2 separate regions of the Homo sapiens genome follow, and region 2 is linked to region 1. The links are contacts of gene promoters, found by promoter capture Hi-C in human tissues and cell types (Jung and others, 2019). All regions are on one chromosome and are shown on one strand. Each heading gives the region's core, a stretch centred on a gene start or on the middle of the fragment in contact. The rest is flanking DNA. Distances are from core to core; before and after follow the strand shown. Region 1 holds the start of GIPC1 (GIPC PDZ domain containing family member 1). Region 2 overlaps ADGRE5 (adhesion G protein-coupled receptor E5).

Region 1 (7,474 bases), core at 1,441-3,940:
CTTTTGGGAGGCCAAAGAGGGAGGATGGCTTGAGCCCAGGAGTTCAAGACCAGCTCTGTGCAACATGGTGAGACCCTGTCTCTATCAAAAAACAAACAAATGGGCCTGGCACAGTGACTCATGCCTGTAATCCCAGCATTTTGAGAGGATGAGGCAGTTGGATCACTTGAGGCCAGGAGTTCGAGACCGGCCTGGCCAACAGGATGAAACCCTGTCTCTACTAAAAATACAAAACTAGCCAGATGTGGTGGCGGGTGCCTGTAATCCCAGCTAATCAGGAGGTTGAGGCAGGAGAATCGCTTGAACCTGGGAGGTGGAGGTTGCAGTGAGCCGAGATTGCGCCATTGCACTCCAGCCTGGGCAACAAGAGTGGAACTCTGTCTCAAAACAAACAAACAGACAAACAAAGGAATAGACTGCGTGCAGTGGCTCATGCCTGTAATCCCAGCATTTCAGGAGGACGAGGCAGGTGGATCACTTGAGGCCAGGAGTTCGAGACCAGCCTGGCCAACATGGCGAAACCCCGTCTCTTTTAAAAATACAAAAAATTTAGCCGAGCATGATGGCGCACGCTGTAATCCCAGCTACTCAGGAGACTGAGGCGTGAGAATTGCTCGAACCTGAGAAGCGGAGGTTGCAGTAAGCTGAGATTGCACCACTGCACTGCAGCCTGGGTGACAGAGTGAGGCTCCGTCTCAAAAAAACAAACAAACAAACAACAACAACAACAAAAATTAGCCAGGTGTGGTGGTACATGCCTGTGGTCCCAGCTACTCGGTAGGCTAAGATGGGAGGATTACTTGAGCCTAGGAGGTGGAGGTTGCAGTGAGCTGAGATCCTGCCACTGCATTCCAGCCTGGCCAACGGAGCTAGACACTGTCTCAAAAAAAAAAAAAAAAAAATTCAGAAAGGAGGTGCCCAGTGCTGCTCTGTGTCTTGAGCAATCCCACAATCCCATCACCCCTTCTCCGGGCACTTCCTCATCAGGAAACAGGAGCCAGTTGGAGTCTGGCTCAGGACTCTGCAGCCTCAGTCATGCTGTCCCCTGGGCTCAGCATCCCGTCCTCTCCAAGTGTGCAGGGGGCAGCTTAGATGCCAGGCTCAAGCAGGGCAGGCAGCACAGTCCCACAGAGGGTACTGGCCAGCCCAGGCAACTGATTGCTCAGTGGGATGGCAGAGGTCAGCAGAACAGGAAGGGACGGACAATAGCTGTGCCTGTTGCCTGGCCTGCCACAGCAATCTCGGTGTTTGCCAGCTGGGTGGGGCTGGCTAGGCAATCCTCAGCAGCAAAGCTCAAGGTTCCATCTCCCATTTTAGTTTGCCCCTCTGCAGGTCCTGGTGGGACTGATATGCACAACATCTCACCCTGGGAACTGCAAAGAACCAGTCTTTCTATGGAGCTTGAGCAGGGTCTCAGCACTTAGAGGCTTCCAGGAACTACAGTTCCCAGAACACACAGCATTCAGCCCCAGTTGCTGTCCAAGTGGCTGGGTTTGAACTAGAACAAGGAAATCTCACTTGTCCCGGGAACTGAGCGTCCTGGCCTGGTCCAGGTGCATTTGTGACTCTTGTTTCTTGGATCTGTGTCCACCTGATAAATCCCCCTTCCTTATAAACTACATGGTCTATTTGTCCACACAGGTTTGCTGAGAACCTGCCGTGTGGCAGCCTGAGGTGGGAGTGAGGGGTTGACAAGAGAGACTCAGCCTCCACCCTCACAGTCAGATGGAGGAGACAGATCTATGAAAGGCTGGCTGGGTACCTTCTGTGACCTAGCACATAAACAAACCAACAAGCAGATAAACTATCTCACCCTTGTCTTTCATTGCATCTTGCCTTTCCACACTGATTTACTAGCTCCCACGATATTGCAGTATCCTAAAGCGTGCTGTATCTCTCTGTCCGGCTTTTGCACGCTCTGTTACCTCTACCAGGAGCACATTCAGCTTATTCACTGACGCGTCTTCAGAGGTAGGACAGAGTCTGGCACGGAGCAGTCTGGCACATTAAATATTTGATGAGTGAGTGAACGAATGAATGAATGAATGCCTTTGTCCATTGTACAGCCCAGGAAGCAGGGAAACTCGGGACCCTCCCTATTCATCTCGATCCCCCGCCCGCCCCCAGAGATTGAATGCATCTTTTTATCCGCTCCGAGGATGGCCAGGCTGGGGCAGAGGAGGCCGGGCAGGGAACTGGGTTGGGGACTGCCATTGACCCCCACCCAGGTCTCCTAAACTGTCCGCTTTCCTGGACGTCGGAAGTTCGAATCCTTTCCCCGAAACCTGGCCTAGGTCACCTGACTCCCCCGCCCCTCACCACCCAGGGCACCCGAGACTGACACTCAGCCGACAGCACGTGGTTCAGGGGCCCCAGCTTCCTTCCCATTGGCCGCTTGTCTCCTTCCTCCCTCGCGATTGGCCGGGGCCCAGCTGCAGCTCCCCCCCCTCCTCAGCCCTCCGGTGGTACAGCCAGCCGCGGCTTAGGCGGGGCGGAACGGTCCACTGCTTCGCGGCGAGGGGAGGAGTCGGGAAGAGCCGGGCGAGGCGGAGGGATCCCTCTGGAATGTTTCCGTCGGGTCCACCCGAAGCGGAAGACGCGGATTGGCTGCGAGCACCGAGAGGCAGCCGCTGATTGGCCGGCCGCGGGCGTCGGCCCCGCCCCCCAGGCGCCGCTGCGGGAGAGGCCCGGTCTGGAGTTTGCGGAGGGCCGAGCCGGGTGCGCACGGGGAGGCGGAGGCAGCGGCGGCGGCGGCGGCGGCGGCGGCGGCGGCGGAGCAGGTGAGTGGCCTCTGCGAGAAGGATGTGTCTGCTCCGGGGGCCTCGGGGGTCGCGGGCCTGCGAGGATCCGGCCGATCCTGCAGGGTGGGGCCGGCGCCGTGGACGCGACTGGAGGTCTAGGCTGCGCGCGGGGATGCCGGAGGCCCCTTCCCAGGGGAAGCGGGGGTGGGGGGTGGTGGGGGCAGCTCCCTTCCTGCTGGCGGGCAGGGGACAAACGCCTCCCAACGCTGGGCTGGGGTTTCTGGGCTTGCCCCTCCCCCCGTCCCCCGGCTGGACTGTCCCCATCCCAGCGTGGACAGGCGCGGGGTCAGTGTTTCTGACCCTTTCCTGGGCACTTCCCCTGAGCTAACCGCGTCTGAACCCTCCAGGGCCTTGGGGGGGACGCAGTGAGGACCACGGTCTGAATAATAATCGTCATGAAAAACTCCACCTCAGCTAGCATTTATTGGAGAGCTTCCGTGTCAGGCATTTACCATGAGGATAATTGACTCTAAACACCTCATGGGAGGTGCTGTGCCTTCTTGTAAAAAAGGTGAGGCAGCCTACCCAGAGAGGTGGAGTGACTTGCCCAAGGTCACACAGCTAGTAACTGGCACATCTGGGACTGGAACTCATGCCCCAGGGTCCAGAACTGGAGTCACACCCACTAGACTGGATACCAATAACTCCACGGCTCAGTTGTTGCTGAGTAGCTCCGGCCCCCTACCCCTCCCACCCCCTACCCCGTACTCATCATCAGGGCCACACCTGCTGGTCTTTTGCTTTACCAGCCACTCAAACAGGAAGCTGCCCTCCTTTCCCTTCTCCCCAGAGCTGGAGAGGGCAGGTCTAACTACCTGGGTCCAGAGAAGAGAGTGGCGTCTGCAGGGGGCCAGGATGCTGGGGTCTGGGCCCACTGGGTTCCCCCCTGGCAACCTGGGCCGAGGCTGGGAAGTAGGCGTTCTCCCCGGAAACACCCAGGAGCCGGTTTTTCAAGAGTGAATCAGAGGCCTCTTTCCCTCCTTCTCTCCAAAGCAACACTGTGCTGGAACGGGGAGCCTGGGCGTGGTTTCCCCCTTCCCCTAGCTTCTGTGTGCTCCCAGGAACCCCCTTCCCCTCCTCCTGCTGGCCACACTGCTTCTGTGTGGCCGTGGGGTTGCTAAGTTTCAGGCCCTTCCCAGGATGAGGGGGTGAGGATGCTGAAATTCCAGCCCAAACACTCAATATCCGGGCTGAAGTGGCTCTTCATCTCTGTGTTCAGGTGTGAGGGGAGCCAGGGAAAGTGGGGAGCCTAGGACAGTTGGCAACCGCACAGCAGGCATGTTTAGGGGGCTGTTTCAAGGATGGGGAGCACAGAGAGCAATCAGAACGAGGACCTGAGACACATTCATTCACTCAGTCTACAAATATTTAGTGAGCACCTGCTACGTGCATGTGCTAGGCACTGTTCTTGGCACAGAAAATGCAACAGTGAACAAAACAAAATCCCTACTTTTGAGGAGTTGGCACTCTGAAAGGAAGGAAGCAGCCAACAAACAAGTTAGCAAGTAAATAAAGAAGATAATTTCAGATGGCACTAACTGCTATGAATAAAATATGAGCGGGTGGTACTGTAGAGAGTAGTTGTGGGCAAGGGGTGCCAGCCCAGCAAAGATCAGGCAAGGGGGCCCGGGCGCGGTGGCTCACGCCTGTAATCCCAGCACTTTGGGAGGCCGAGGCGGGTGGGTTGCTTGAGGTCAGGAGTTTGAGACCAGCCTGGCCAACATGGGGAAACCCTGTCTCTACTAAAAATACAAAAATTGGCTAGGGGCATGGCTCACCCCTGTAATCCCAGCACTTTGGGAGGCTGAGACAGGTGGGTCAAGAGGTCAGGAGTTTGAGACCAGCCTGATCAACATGGTGAAACCCCCTCTCTCCTAAAAATATGAAAATTAGCTGGGTGTGGTGGCGCACGCCTGTAAGCCCAGCTACTCAGGAGGCTGAGGCAGGAGAATCGCTTGAACCCGGGAGGCGGAGGTTGCAGTGAGCTGAGATCGTGCCACTGCACTCCAGCCTGGGCTACAGAGCGAGACTCCATCTCAAAAAAAAATAAAAATAGGCCAGGCGTGGTGGCTTATGCCTGTAATCCCAGCACTTTGGGAGGCCGAGGCAGGCAGATCACCTGAGGTCAGGAGTTCAAGACCAGCCTGACCAACATGGAGAAACCCTGTCTCTACTAAAAATATAAAATAAGCTGGGCGTGGTGGCACATGCCTGTAATCACAGCTACATGGGAGGCTGAGGCAGGAGAGAATCGCTTGAACCCGGTAGGCAGAGGTTGCGGTGAGCCAAGATCGCGCCATTGCACTCCAACCTGGGCAACAAGAATGAAACTCCGTCTCAAAAATAAATAAATAAATAAAAATAAACAAATACAAAATAAAAATACAAAAATTAGCCGGATGTGGTGGTGCGTGCCTGTAATCCCAGCTACTCAGGAGGCTAGGGCAGAAGAATCGTTTGAACCCAGGAGGTGGAGGTTGCAGTGAGCTGAGATGGCGCCACTGCACTCCAACCTGGGTGACAGAGCAAGACTCCATCTCGAAAAAAAAAAAAGAGAGAGAGATGGGCAAGGCCAAGGTCTTTAGGCTGGACCAAGTTTGGAATCACATGGTTGGAGCAGAAGATGAACCCAGAGCAGCGATTCTGCAGGGGTTTGTGGGTCACAGTAAGGAGATTGCAGTTTTTCTTCCAGAAGGTGGGAAACTGTTGTAAAGTTTCAGGCAGGGCAGTGATGCCATCTGGTTTACGTTTTAAAATAGAGACATGAAGTTAAATGACAGCCTGAAGCTGGAAGACAAGAGTTCTGCCAGGGCAGCATGCAATTAAGTTCATGGGCCTGAGCCATCTGTACCACAGGGGCAGTTCCAGCATGCTGGGGCAAGCCTGGGAGGCTTCATGGAGGAGTGGGCCTGGAGTAGGTATTGGCAGGCAGAGAGGGTTGGGATATTCCTGGGCAGGGCAGGGCAGAGGAGGAGACACCCATAGTAATGACAACAGCGTCCTTAAATGGAGTCTGAGGCAGAGTGTAGATGGGATACGTGGGTAATCTCTTTGGATTTCCACAACCACCTTGAGAGTGACAGGAATTCCACCCATTTTTCAGATGAAGAAACTGAGGCCCTGTGATGTGAAGTGACTTGCCCCCCAGCCACACAGCTGGTAAGTGGCAGGGGTGGGATTTGAACCCAGGCCACGAAGCCTCTTATGGCCGTGGCAGGCAGATTCATTACTCACTCACTTTCCTCACTGCTGTTAATGCCTCCTCACGGGTGGGGACACGGAAGCTGGCATGAACCAGGGCAGTGGGGTGGGCAGAGAGAGAGAGTAAGGAGGCTGGGAATTGGTGGTCAGGATGTAGGGATCTTGGGAAAAGGAGGAAGCTTGAATCTTGGTACAGATGGCAGTAGCAAGGCCGGGTGCAGTGGCTCACGCCTATAATCCCAGCACTTTGGGAGGCCGAGGCAGGTGGATCACGAGGTCAGGGGATCGAGACCATCCTGGCTAACATGATGAAACAGCGTCTCTACTAAAAATACAAACAATTAGCTGGGCATGGTGGCGGGCACCTGTAGTCCCAGCTACTCGGGAGGCTGAGGCAGGAGAATGGCGTGAACCCGGGAAGCAGAGCTTGCAGTGAGCTGAGATCGTGCCACTGCACTCCAGCCTGGGCAACAGAGCGAGACTCCGTCTCAAAAAAAAAAACAAAAGATGGCAGTAGCAGTAATTGTCACCAATATTTATGCAACCCTTATTGTGTGCCAGGACTGTTCCAAGCACATGCATGATTTCCTTGGAGCTCAGAGAGGTTAAGACCCTTGCCCAAAGTCACACAGCTATTAAGAGATGAAGCCAGGTTCCAGATTCATGTTTTTAGTTTCCTGCCTCCCAGTGCGTAGAGCTGGCGGAATTGGAGGGATGATGAGGGGTCTTTTCTTTTTTCTTTTTTTTGAGATGGAGCCTCACTCTGTCACCCAGGCTGGAGTGCAGTGGCACGATCTTGGCTCACTGCAAACTCCACCTCCCGGGTTCATGCCATTCTCCTGCCTCAGCCTTCCGAGTAGCTGGGACTGCAGGCGCCCGCCACCACGCCTGGCTAATTTTGAAAATATATGGCTGGGCGTGGTGGCTCATGCCCACCTCGGCCTCCCGGAGTGTTAGGATTACAGGCGAGAGCCACCACACCCGGCCGACACTGATTTTTCTTTCCAGCGAGGTCAGAGCCCGGGGAGGGGTCAGAGCAGAGACAAATGCGACATGACTTATGTTTTACAGGACCATTCTGGCTGCTGTCTGGACAAGAAGTCGTAGGGGGTGAGGGTGGAAGCTGGGAAACCCACAGGAGGCAACCACACTAGTTTAGGTAAGTGATCATGGAGATGGACCAGGTGAGATGAGAGGGTGTGTTAGGGGACAGACGAATGGATGCATGAACAAATGGATACATGAGACTAGGTGCAGGCTGGGTGCAGTGGCTCACACCTCTAATCCCAGCACTCTGGGAGGCCAAGGTGGGCGAATCACCTGAGGTCAGGAGTTCCAGACCAGCCTGGTCAACATGGAGAAACCCCATCTCTACTAAAAATACAAAAATTAGCCAGGTGTGGTGGCACGCACCTGTAATCCCAGCTACTCAGGAGGCTGAGGCAGGAGAATCGCTTGAACCTGGGAGGTGG
Region 2 (6,860 bases), core at 66-2,565, 88 kb after region 1:
AGGGGTCTGGGGCAGAGGGTTCCTCCCCCGGCCCTTCAGTTCACTGCATCTCATGTCTTACAGTCGAGCAGAGCCGGTAACCACCACGTGCCAGAGCCGCCCACCCGGAGCCGCCCGCATGCAGCTTCACCTCCCCTTTCCAGGCGCCACTGTTGAGAAGCTAGAGATTGTATGAGAATAAACTTGTTATTATGGAAGCCTGGCTCCCACCCCATCTATTTCTTGGTCATCTTGGCCTTTCACGGACACCCTGGGCCCGGCCTCTGAATCACCACCAGCAGGCAAGGCCATCTTCTGTATGCATGTGTTTAATTTTAAGTGTCAACACTGAAAAATTTTAACAGATAAAAACACATTACACAACGTCTACAACCTTCACAACAGTGAGAACCTCCTGCCCGGCCAGGCAGGGCAGGCCTCTGTACCGTGAGCCTCAGGCAGTGGCCCCAAGGGGCCTCGCCATGGGGCCTCTGACATCAGTCTTAGCTTAAGAGGGAAGCTGAGCCCCAGCGCCTAGTCTCTTCAGTTCTGCAGCAAAGACATGAGAGGAAAAGTCCAGGATGGGACAAGCGCCCTTAGTCTGTCCCGAGTACTGGCCACAGGTGCCAGGGCAACATGCTGCATTGCAGCCCTGGGCCAGCCCCTGTCCCCACCCTGGGTCACAAGGTGGAGCAGAGAGGCAGCCAGCAGCAGGACCAGTGGCTCCGACTCCACCCCACTGGGTGTCCTGGACTTTGGTGCCAGACTATAGCTGCCACTCCCTCCTGGTGGCACACGGGATCAGGGAGGGAGGGTGGAGGGAGTAGAGTGGTGGACGAAGGGAGGATGGATGGTCTTCGTGTACAAAGCTGCTGTGGCCACAGGAGCTGCTGGGCCGTCCAGAACCATGCGCCTTCATATGCCGGACTCTGATGCCCTGAGGGCCTGGAGAGGAGAGCCCAGAGGCCTGAGCCCCGCTAGCCCTGGTGCCTTCCTGCCCACACCCGCCCCAGGCGCAGCCCCTTACCCGGGTCTGATTGTGGCCAGTGCCAGACGTGGTGGAGGTGAATTCTGAGTACTTGCTCCCCCCAGCAACTAGGCAGGCCCACTTCCGGTATTCTTCCCGAACCTGCCGGCCCAGACACCAAGTCAGGGCAGGAGCAGGCCCTGGGACCATGCACGCTCCTCCCCATGCTCTGCCCTCAGCCCCACCTTCTTGGTGTTTTTGTGTTTGTCTTTTTTTTGAGATCGGGTCCCCCTGTCACCCAGGCTGGAGTGTAGTGGCACCATCATAGCTTACTGCAACCTTGAACTCCTGGGCCCAAGTGATCCTCTTGCCCCAGCCTCCTGAGAAGCTGAGATGGGTATTCAGCACACCCGGCTTTTTTTTTTTTTTTTGGAGACAAGTCTCACTGTCACCCAGGCTGGAGTGCAATGGTGCCATCTTGGCCCACTGCACTCCTGGTTCAAATGATTCTCCTGCCTCAGCCTCCCAAGTAGCTGGGACTACAGGCGTGTGCCACCATGCCTGGCTAATTTTTGTATTTTTAGTAGAGACAGGGTTTCACCATGTTGGCCAGGCTGGTCTTGAATTACTGACCTCAGGTGATCTGCCCACCTCGGCCTCCCAAACTGTTGGGATTACAGGCGCCTCACCCTGGCTATCTTTGAATTTTTTTGTAAAGACAGCATCTGGTTATGTTGCCCAGGCTGGTCTCCAACTTCTGGGCTCAAGCAATCCTCCCACCTCAGCCTCCCAAATAGGTGGGAGGATGACAGGCGTGCGCCACTGTGCCCAGGCCCCCACCTTCTTGTTGAGCAGGCAGTGCAGCAGGTAGAGGAAGGCGCCCTGCAGGCAGTTGAGGATGGTAAACACATAGGTCAGCACCAAGCTCCGATCGTCGAAGATGAACAGGCCAAAGACCCAGGTGCAGCCCAACAGGAAGAGCTGCGCGATGGCCGTGATGGTCAGCGCCCTGCGAGGAGCGGGGTTGCAGCGTGGGCCCCCACCTCACCTCCAGCTTCATGCCCCTCACCCCGGCCCCGCCTCCAAGTCCTTCCAGCCTCTCCTCTCACCTCGCCTTCTTTAATTTCTTCATGTCTGGATTGATTTCAGAAAACTTCTGAGTGAGCTTCCAGACGGTAGTCACGAAAATGACAGCATTGCACTGGGCAGGGAGCAGATTGTGGGTTAGAGGGCGAGAGCGATGGTCCAGCCGGGCCTGGGCCTGTGGCGCTCGGGCTTCGGTGGAGGGAGAGTGGGTACTTACCAAAATGATGAAGGTCACAGGTCCCAAGAAGCTCCAGAGGAAGCCCTGCTCAAAGTCCAACCAGCAGCTAGGAGGGAAGGGAGGGGTCCCATCAGTGCCCCAGGAAGCCAGGAGCGGAACGGAGGGCGGCCGGACATTGTGTGTGGCACTGCCTGTGAGCCCCAGGCCCAGCACCCCGCCTTCCTCCTGCCCCATCTCGCTGCACTCACTATCTGGGGCGGCCGTAGCCCTTGCTGTAGATGGCAGCCGAGACGCCCACGATGAGCAGGGGCACGCCATAGCCGATCAGGCAGAGCCAGCGCGTACTCAGGCCCTGGCCTTGGAACACGCGCACCACAAGAAAGTAGAGCTCCAGGCCTTCGAGGCTCATCCAGCAGAAGGCGGCCAGGAAACAGTAGTGCAGCAGCCCGGCCACCAGGCGGCAGCGCAGCCCCACCTGCGGGGCGGGGACGGAGGGGCGGAGCGACGTCAGCGCGGGGAGGGGCATGCGGCGCCAGAGCCAGTCGCCTGCCAGGTCCCGAGAGTGGGCGGGACCACAGCCGGAGGGTGGGCGGGTCTGGAGCGGGGGCCAGGTTTCCCCCCAGGGCCCACCCCCAACAACGCTCAGAAGCGAGCGGGCACTCGGGGTGTGGCCAGGCAGCTCCAAAGCCAGCGCCCTTTAAAGAGACAACCCGACCCCCCGGTGGGCGGGGCCAGATCCCGGACAGGGGCGGGGCCTCATGCCTCCAGGGCCCGCCTACCCGACTGAGCCCCGGGAGTGGGCGGGGCTAACCCCTCCCAGGCCTCCCTGACCCCAGAGCTCAGGAGGGAGCGGGGCGGGACCTCACCTGGCCGCCTTCGTTCTCGATGCCGGCCAGGAAGATGGTGGAGCCCACGAAGAGGCAGATGCAGAGGTGCAGGTGTATGGTGGTGCGCGAGCCCTGGATGGGCCGCACCAGCAGGAAAGTGAGGATGCACAGCAGCAGGCAGAAGAGTGACAGCGCCAGTCCCACCCTGGTGATCAGGGTCAGCTTCCAGTCCTAGGAGTGGCACCGGGTGCTCAGGGTTCCTTCAGGGCATGAGGCCTTCCTGCCCTCTTTGTGGTCCCTTTTCCCCCCCACACTTTGACGGGCCCACCTCTCTGACCTCCTCCCTTGTCCCTCCTAGATCTGGCCACACTTACCAGCTGGAAGGGGAGTCTAGGGATTTCACATTTTTGTGCTTGCTGGGCCTTTGGCCTGGACCACAGGCGCCCCCCTTCTCTGCCTGGTTAATTGCAGTTTTCGACAAGGCCCAGCTTAACGATGGATCCTACTGAAGTCACGTACAGAAAGTGGTGCTCCAGGCTGGGTGTGGTGGCTCATGCCTCTAATCCTAGCACTTTGAGAGGCTGAGGGGGGGCAGATCACCTGAGGTCAGGAGTTCGAGACCAGCCTGCCCAACATAGTGAAACCCCGCCTCTACTAAAAATACAAAAATTAGCGGTGCATGGTGGCATGCACCTGTAATCCCAGCTACTTGGGAGGCTGAGGCAGGAGAATCGCTTGAATCCGGAGGCGGGGGTTGCAGTGAGCCAAGATCACACTACTGCACTCCAGCCTAAGCGATAGAGCAAGACTCTGTCCAAAAGAAAAAAAAAAAGAGGCCGGGTGCGGTGGCTGACACCTGTAAGCCCAGCACTTCGGGAGGCCGAGGTGGGTGGATCACCTGAGGTCAGGAGTTTGAGACTAGCCTGGGCAACATGGTGAAACCCTGTCTCTACTAAAAATACCAAAAATTACTCAGGCATGGTGGTGCACGCCTGTAATCTCGGCTACTCGGGAGGCTAAGGCAGGAGAATCCCTTGAACCTCACTAGCTGAGATTGTGCCACCATACTCCAACCTGGGCGACAGAGACTCCGTCTCAAAAAAAAAAAAAAACGGGCAAGTGGTGCCCCCTTGGAATGCTCTCCATGGGGAGCTTTTAGTTGACATCTCACAACTGGTACGGGATGGACAGGCAGAGGAGCGGAGCTAGTGGCTGCACCCAGTGTATAGTTGCTGGGTTGTAGAGAAGAGGCCAAAGGAAGAGGCTGCGAAGGGTGTGACGTGGGGACACCTGGGCTGTGCAACCATGCAGATATATCTGAGCAACCAGTAGGGCTCCATGGAGAACTAGCTGCCTGTCTGGTTGCAGCTGGACCTCATTACCTGTGGGCACTTGAGGATGCCTCCAGCTACTTACCTCCACGTCATAATGAGCCATAAGGATCGCAAAGCTGCTCAGGTGGCTGCATTGGCAGGTGGTGCTGCCGTTCTTGCTGCCCAGCACCTGGCAGCCCTCGGTGGCCCAGTGCCCTCCCCTGTCGCTGTCACTCTTCCAGAAGGCACAGAGCAGCTCCTGCCGTGGCCCAGGCATCACGTCCTGTGGGCAGATGGGGGTGGTCAGAAAGGTTGGCCTGGAGCTCACTCTTAGGTCCTGGGCTTGGGCTGAGTCTAAGAGGGCTGCTTTTTACTAGATGAGTATTGACCGAGCGCCTACTGAATGTAACAGGTTTGGAGACACAGCAGTGAACAGGGCACACACAAGTACCTACCCTTGTGAGGTTGACATAAGAGTGGGAGAGGTGGCCAGGCATAGTGGCTCATGCCTGTAATCCCAGCACTTTGGGAGGCTGAGGCAGGCGGATCACCTGAGGTCAGGAGTTTGAGACCAGCCTGGCCAACATGGCGAAACCCCGTCTCCACTAAAAAATACAAAAATTAGCTGGGCCTGGTGGCAAGCACCTGTAAATCCCAGCTACTTGGGAGTCCTGGGCAGGAGAATCGCTTGAACCTGGGAGGTGGAGGTTGCACTGAGCCGAGAATGAGCCACTGCACTCCAGCCTGGATGACAAGAGTGAAACTCCATCTCAAAAAAAAAAAAAAAAAAAAAAAAAAAAAGTGGGAGAGGCAGATTATGACATAAACCTAACGAATAAGTAATGTAGATAGTGCATTAGAAGGTGGCCAGGGATGATGATGGCTCTTGCCTGTAAGTAATTCCAGGACTTTGGGAGGCCAAGGTGGGAGGATCGCTTGAGGCCAGGAGTTTGAGACCAGCTGTGGCAACATAGCGAGACCTCCATCTCCATTAATTTTTTTGTTTTTAATTAACTGGGCATAGTAGTGCACGCTTATAGTCCCAGCTACTCAGGAGGCTGAGGTGGGAGGATCACTGGAGCCCAGGAATTCTAGACCATCCTGGGAAAAATAGTGAGGTCCCCGTCTCTATCAAAAATAAAAAAATTAGCTGGGAGTGGTGGTGCATGCCTGTAGCCTCAGCTACTCAAAACTCTGAGGCTGGAGGAATGGTTGAGTTCAGGAGTTCGAGGTTGCAGTGAGCTATAATCGCGCCACTGCACTCCAGCCTGGGCCACAGAGTGAGACCCTCCTGTCTAAAAATATAAATAAATAAGAAAAGAAAGTCTGGGAGTGGTGGCTCACGCCTGTAATCGCAGTACTTTGAGAGGCCAAGGCGGGCAGATCACCTGAGGTCGGGAGTTTGAGACCAACCTGACCAACATGGAGAAACCCCGTCTCTACTAAAAATACAAAATCAGCGAGGTGTGGTGGCGCATGCCTGTAATCCCATCTACTTGGGAGGCTGAGGCAGGAGAATCACTTGAACCTGGGAGGCAGAGATTGCAGTGAGCCGAGAACGTGCCACTGCACTCCAGCCTGGACGACAGAGTGAGACTCTGTCTTAAAATAAATAAATTAATTAATTAAATTAAATAAATAAAGTAAGGAAATAAATAAGTAATGAGGTTGGGGAAGGCCCAAATCAGAAGGCCAGAAACATAAAAGACTGAGTCACGTCGGGAAAGAGCATCCCAGAGAGAGGCCCAGCATGTGCGAAGGCCCTGGGTTATCTTTGAGGAAGTGAGCAGAGTGAGCAGAGACCTTGGCAGGAGGGTCTCTTCCCGCCTCCCCATCGGAGGACTCAAGGTGGGAGAAGGCGAAAAGGATGGGGGAGTTGAGTTCCTTGGTGTTGTTGTGGCTCAGAAAGATGGAGTTGACGGCAGAGAGGCGTCTGAGTTGGACACCACGGATGCTGCTTTCATATATCTCCTCCAGTTCGGCTTGCTTCTTGGAATGCAGGTTCAAGGAGGCATTGGCCAGCAATGTCGTCATGTTCTGGATGGAGAGGATGCCCGCCACGGCGGGGCCTGGGGAACAGACACACTCGCTGCCTACTCCCGTTGTCCTCCTCCCATGCTCTATCCTCCCTCCCAAGATGACCCAGCTCAGGCTCAGCCAGTCCACCACGATGACGCCAGGAGCCCCTCCCGATGAGTCAGTTTCTAGTTGTTCCTTGTTTTTTTTTTTTTGAGACGGAGTTTCGCTCTTTCGCCCAGGCTGGAGTGCAGTGGCGTGATCTCAGCTCACTGCAACCTCCACTCCCCAGGTTCAAGCAATTCTTCTGTCTCAGCCTCCCAAGTAGCTGGGATTATAGGCACCTGCCACCACTCCCAGCTAATTTTTGTATTTTTAGTAGAGATGGGGTTTCACCATCTTGGCCAGGCTAGTTTTGAACTCCTGACCTCGGGTGATCCATCTACCTCAGCCTGCCAAAGTGCTAGGGTGCTAGGACTACAGGCATGAGCCAC

The links. Contacts are between HindIII fragments. The study calls those that stand out against the background at their distance.
Region 2: a contact is called between a fragment that was not itself captured here and the fragment with the promoter of GIPC1 in region 1, in 2 of the 25 tissues and cell types used here (dorsolateral prefrontal cortex and spleen).

Annotation. Positions count from the first base shown.
Region 1 is chr19:14,491,343-14,498,816 of GRCh38, reverse strand. It overlaps GIPC1 (GIPC PDZ domain containing family member 1), which reads left to right and starts at 2,690. Exons shown (of 9, transcript NM_005716.4): 1 at 2,690-2,780; 2 at 5,905-5,960; 3 at 7,074-7,161. RefSeq lists enhancers at 669-1,168, 2,449-3,375 and silencers at 2,357-2,416, 2,557-2,786. The HindIII fragment of the contact is 12,252 bases long and covers 468-7,474 here.
Region 2 is chr19:14,402,156-14,409,015 of GRCh38, reverse strand. It overlaps ADGRE5 (adhesion G protein-coupled receptor E5), which reads right to left. Exons shown (of 20, transcript NM_078481.4): 12 at 6,154-6,419; 13 at 4,454-4,633; 14 at 3,077-3,268; 15 at 2,459-2,685; 16 at 2,250-2,316; 17 at 2,056-2,147; 18 at 1,787-1,955; 19 at 1,007-1,108; 20 at 293-924. The coding sequence ends at 895. DDX39A (DExD-box helicase 39A) reads left to right here. Exons shown (of 11, transcript NM_005804.4): 11 at 64-218. The coding sequence ends at 80. Among named protein-coding and RNA genes, the nearest start is that of DDX39A, 14 kb to the left of the region's middle. RefSeq lists enhancers at 990-1,219, 2,602-3,231, 3,365-3,659, 3,232-3,861, 6,283-6,860 and a silencer at 2,568-3,087. The HindIII fragment of the contact is 6,072 bases long and covers 1-4,351 here.